2 separate regions of the Homo sapiens genome follow, and region 1 is linked to region 2. Evidence: promoter capture Hi-C in human tissues and cell types (Jung and others, 2019). All regions are on one chromosome and are shown on one strand. The core of a region is centred on a gene start or on the middle of the fragment in contact, and the rest is flanking DNA. Distances in the headings are between cores, read along the strand shown.

What was found. Contacts are between HindIII fragments. The study calls those that stand out against the background at their distance.
Region 1: a fragment that was not itself captured here is called in contact with the fragment with the promoter of B3GNT4 in region 2 in 2 of the 25 tissues and cell types used here (dorsolateral prefrontal cortex and small bowel).

What each region holds. Positions count from the first base shown.
Region 1 is chr12:122,159,751-122,162,450 of GRCh38, forward strand. No RefSeq gene overlaps it. Among named protein-coding and RNA genes, the nearest start is that of IL31, 13 kb to the right of the region's middle. The HindIII fragment of the contact is 8,474 bases long and covers 1-2,700 here.
Region 2 is chr12:122,202,370-122,205,069 of GRCh38, forward strand. B3GNT4 (UDP-GlcNAc:betaGal beta-1,3-N-acetylglucosaminyltransferase 4) reads left to right here and starts at 1,340. Exons shown (of 3, transcript NM_030765.4): 1 at 1,340-1,432; 2 at 2,153-2,315. The coding sequence starts at 2,250. LRRC43 (leucine rich repeat containing 43) reads left to right here. Exons shown (of 12, transcript NM_001098519.2): 12 at 946-1,102. The coding sequence ends at 1,073. RefSeq lists a silencer at 1,025-1,654. The HindIII fragment of the contact is 16,495 bases long and covers 1-2,700 here.

The DNA of each region.
Region 1 (2,700 bases), core at 179-2,678, 43 kb before region 2:
AGGACCAGAAACTGAATCCAAGAATAGCTGCTCTTAGCACTAATGCTGTTGGGGGAAAATGTTTCCAGGGCCATTGAATAGGAAATTAATAACGTTGGGATCTTGAAGAGCCTCAGAATTGTCATTCTAAGTATTCCTTCTCACTATAAAGTACTGTCATTTTGGGTAGTGCGTAAAAGGGCTGAGAGAAATAATATTGCATTGGTTTTACTGCAAAATTGGTTCTACAAGGAGTCACGCCAGGGGACTGCTTTGTCCATTCAGCGGGGAGATCCGAAGAGCAGATAAAGAGCTGGGGACAGTGGAGCTGAGCCTGGTGTCAGAGATGGTTGAGAAGAAACACCAATGTCACAAACCCACTGCTACAGTAAGACACCTGGGGGTGCTAAAGTCTTTTCTTACCTTATTACCAACACTTGGAAAAGCCTTCACACCTCTCCATTTCTCACCTTCTCTCCAAGTGCTATTTCTTTTTTAAAACTTGAAATCATGTTTATTTGACTGATTTCTAAAATAATACATACTAACTTTAGAAAATTTGGAAAATACATTAAAATATAAAGAAAATTCTTGGCCAGGCATGGTTGCTCATGCCTGTAATCCCAGCACTTTGGGAGACCGAGGTGGGTGGATCACCTGAGATCAGGAGTTTGAGACCAGCCTGGCCAACAAGGTGAAACCCCATCGCTACTAAAAATACAAAAATTAGCCTGGTGTGGTCGTGGGCACCTGTAATCCCCGCTACTCAGGAGGCTGAAGCAGGAGAATCGCTTGAGCCCAGGAGGCGGAGATTGCAGTGGGCTGAGATCGCACCACTGAGATCAAAAAGAAAAAACAAAAAAAGAAAAATTCTCCCCCTGCCCAAAGATTTTTTTTTTTTTTTGCCAGTCTTGCTTTCTGTCTATATGTAAGATAGGTGGACACACACACACACACAGACACTTTATTTTAAACTTATATTTTAGGTTCAGGGGTACATGTGAAGGTTTGTTACATAGCAACATGGTATGGTTAGGCTTTATGTCCCCACCCAAATCTCATCTGGAATTGTAATCCCCACGTGTCTAGCGAGAAGCCAGGTGGAGGTGATTGGATCACGGGGGCAGTTTTCCCCATGCTGTTCTCGTGATAATGAGTGAGTTCTCTCTGATGGTTTTATAAGGGGGCGCTTCTTCCTTTGCTCACCACTCTCTCTCGCCTGCGGCCATGTAAGAAGTGTCTCTTCCGCTTCTGTCATGGTTGTAAATTTTCTGAGGCCTCCCCAGCCCTGCAAAACTGTGAGTCAATTAAACCTCTTTTCTTTATAAAATAGCAAGTCTCGGATATGCCTTTTTTTTTTTTTTTTTTTTGGAGATGGAGTCTCGCTGTCTCTCCCAGTCTGGACTGCAGTGGCACGATCTCAGCTCACTGCAAGCTCCGCCTCCCGGGTTCACGCCATTCTCCTGCCTCAGCCTCCCGAGTAGCTGGGACTACAGGCGCCCGCCACCACGCCCAGCTAATTTTTTGTATTTTTAGTAGAGATGGGGCTTCACCATGTTAGCCAAGATGGTCTCAATCTCCTGACCTTGTGATCCACCTGCCTCGGCCTCCCAAAGTGCTGGGATTACAGGTGTGAGCCACTGTGCCTGGCCCCAGGTATGTCTTTATAGCAGTATGAAAATGAACTGCCAGGCGTGGTGGCTCATGCCTGTAACCTCAGCACTTTGGGAGGCCAAGGTGGGTGGATCACCTGAGGTCGGGAGTTCAAGACCAGCCTGACCAACATGGAGAAACCCTGTCTCTACTAAAAATATAAAATTAGCCGGGCGTGGCAGCACATGTAATCCCAGCTACTTGGGAGGCTGAGGCAGGAGAATCACTTGAACCCGGGAGGCAGAGGTTGCGGTGAGCTGAGATGGCGCCACTGCACTCCAGCCTGGGTGACAAGAGCGAAACTCTGTCTCAAAAAAAGAAAATGAACAAGTAAACTTGTGTCATGGGGGTTTATTTATACAGATTATTTCATCACTCAGGTATTAAGCCTAGTACCCAACAGTTATCTTCTCTGCCTGTTCCTCTCCCTCTTCCCCCCCACCCTCCTGCCCGCCTCCACCCTCCCCCTCCAGTAAACCCCAGTGTCTGTTGTTTCCTTCTTTGTGGTCATCGGTTCTCATCATCTAGCTCCCACTTATAAGTGAGAACGTGTGGTATTTCGTTTTCTGTTCTTGCGTTAGTTTGCTGAGGATGATGGCCTCCAACTCCATCCGTGTTCCCCCAACAGACATATTTTTTAACTCAATGGGGGATCGTCATAAATATATTTTATAACCTGCTTTTATAAATTAACGTCATACTTGAAGCATTTTACCCTGCCAGTAAACATTCTTTGATAAAATGACTTTGAGCGGCCACTGTTTGTTCATTGCCTTATTTTCAGTCATCGGGGTTGTATAGCAGCCGTGAAAGTGTGCCCCTCAGATTTCCCACTCTGGGAAGTATAATTGACCCAGGGCCCCCAGCTGCTGTGCCCGGAAATCCATCACCCAGCACATGGAGACCCCGCTTCCCGCAGGCTTCTCCCATCTAGAGACAGCATGGCAGGGATGCTGAGGCTGGCTCGTTCCTGGGAGACCCAGGCTTCTCTTAGGATTTTCCCACATTCGTGCTGAAGTCTCCCAGGATGGCACCGTAGGCTGAGACGCTGCCCCCAACCTCCTTTCC
Region 2 (2,700 bases), core at 90-2,589:
CCTTAAAATAATATAATTTCTTTAATATTACACCAAATTTGACAAGTGGTAATTTCTTAAAGGTTGTTACAATGTGAAAACAATCTATATTGAATTTTTCATAATCAGATTAAAATTCATTAATCTAGTTTGCATTTTGAACGGATATTTTACCATGCAGTTTGTAACATGCATGAGTTACTTGTAAACTACAGGTTAACAGACTTATGCAGATATTCCAACAGTTGACACCTGTCACTATACATTTTCCAAAGATCACGTTCTTTACTATCACCACCCACATCATTAGAAAGGTCTTTGCGTATTGGAAAATTGGTAAATTCATGGTGGCAGATACAATGTTGTCTCATTTTTAGGGCAAATGTTATACATTTATTGAAATGCTTTCAGTTGTTTCCCCTGAAGTGCTATAATTACTTCATTTTTAAGAAAATATCTGCAGCTGGGCTCGGTAGTGTACGCCTGTGATCCTAGCACGTTGGGAGGCCTAGGCAGGCGGATCACTTGAGGTCAGGAGTTCGAGACCAGGCTGGCCAACATGGTGAAACCCCGTCTCTACTAAAACTACAAAAAATAGCCGGTCGTGGTGACAGGCGCCTGTAATCCCAGCTACTTGGAGGCTGACGCAGGAGAATCGCTTGAACCTGGGAGGCGGAGGTTGCAGTGAGCCGGGATCATGCCACCGCACTCCAGCCTGGGCGACGGAGCACGACACTGTCTCAAAGCAAAAAGCAGCCAGTCTTGCAACTCAAACAGCTGCGATTTATTAAATGATCTAATTAAATACAATTTAATTTTATTTCTTATTACTGTTAACACCCGAGGACCAAAACTGTGCTCCCGCTGGGACAGGGTCCAGGGCTTGCATATGGGATGGGTCAGGGCGGCCGAGAACGCCAGCCCATCCGTCTCCCGGGGCTCATGCTCGCACTTAAATTTTCTCAGAAAAGCCGAAAGCCGTGATTCCGATCTACGAAGGCGATTACCACCCTGAGCCCCTGACCGTAGAGGTGCAGATCCAGCTGAACCAGTGCCGCTCGGCGGAGGAGGCTCTGCGCATGTTCGCCGTGTAGGGCGTGGGCAGTAAAGGCTGTTCCCAGCACTCCCGCCTCCGCTTCTGTCCCGCCGCACGCGTCGGGGGGCGGGTGTGGCGCCGGCGTCCTGGGGAGGAGGAGCAGCCTCTGCCCGACCCGGCTCGTGCGGACCCCAGGACCGGGCGCGGGACGCGTGCGTCCAGCCTCCGGCGCTGCGGAGACCCGCGGCTGGGTCCGGGGAGGCCCCAAACCCGCCCCCGCCAGAACCCCGCCCCAAATTCCCACCTCCTCCAGAAGCCCCGCCCACTCCCGAGCCCCGAGAGCTCCGCGCACCTGGGCGCCATCCGCCCTGGCTCCGCTGCACGAGCTCCACGCCCGTACCCCGGCGTCACGCTCAGGTAGGTTGGGGGCCGGGACGCCGCTGCTGTGAGGGAGGCTGGGTCACCGTGCAGGGAGGGGCGTCGCCAGGGCGGCCGTGCCTTTGCACCCCGCGGCCCGCTCCCCGGTCCCCCAGGGTCCCCGCGAGGACGCCGGCCCCGCCCGGGTGCGGCGCGAGTCTGGCCTCGGCGGGCACGGCTCGGGGCCCACGGGCCGCTCGGCTTCGGTTCTCCAGGCTGGGGACAGAGGCTGGAGCCGGGCGCGGTAGACCCCGCCAGCCTGGGCCGCCCGCGCCCGACGCGCAGCGCTGCTGCCAACCCCGGCCCGGGGGTCCCCGCAGAGTGGGTCTCTGCTGCCGTCAGCCCTTCGGAGACTGTCGCGTTGAAAGAATGAACCAGAGTTCGCCCCCTGCCCGCGCCAGGGCGTTTTGGGTCACCGAGTCCTGTGGGGATCCGAGGCGGCTGCCGCCCAAGGCCGAGCGCAGCCTCAGGACCCGCGCCCCACCAGACGGGGTCGTGCGCTCCGCGGCGGGTGGAGAGCCGGGCTCTGGGGTCTCCGCGGCTCGGAGGGCGGCGGGGCGAGGCCGTGCGGCCAGCGCCTGGGGACGCCCGCGGCGGGACAGGGGCCACCCGGGCCGCGGCGCAGCCTGGGCTGAAACCTCCTGGGACGGAACCAAGCCACCTGCTGTGCGCCCTTCTCGGTGAATGGCACCGCCGCCCGCCCGGGCCTCTCGTCCACAGCCCGCGGTGCTCGCACACCTGAGACTCATCTCGCTTCGACCCCGCCGCCGCCGCCGCCCGGCATCCTGAGCACGGAGACAGTCTCCAGCTGCCGTTCATGCTTCCTCCCCAGCCTTCCGCAGCCCACCAGGGAAGGGGCGGTAGGAGTGGCCTTTTACCAAAGGTCAGATTCTTTCACCGCCTCTGCCAGACCCCCTTGTCCCCCACCCCCGCATAGATCTCCAGGGGGCTCAGAAAACTCTGGCCGGTGGCTCACGCCTGTAGTCCCAACGCTTTGGGAGGCCAAGGCGGGAGGATCGCTTGAGGCCAGGAGTTCCAGACCAGCCCAGGCAACAAAAGATACCACATCTCTACAAAAAATAAATTAGCCGGGCCCTGCACGCCTGTAGTCCCAGCTACTGGGGAGGCCGAGGCCGGAGGATCGCTTGAACCCAGGAGTTCCAGGCTGCAGTGAGCTATAATTGTGCCACTGCACTAGAGTCTGGGTGACAGAGACACTGTCTCAAAAAAAACCAACAAAACCCTTAGCTCTTTCACTAGCCGGGCTG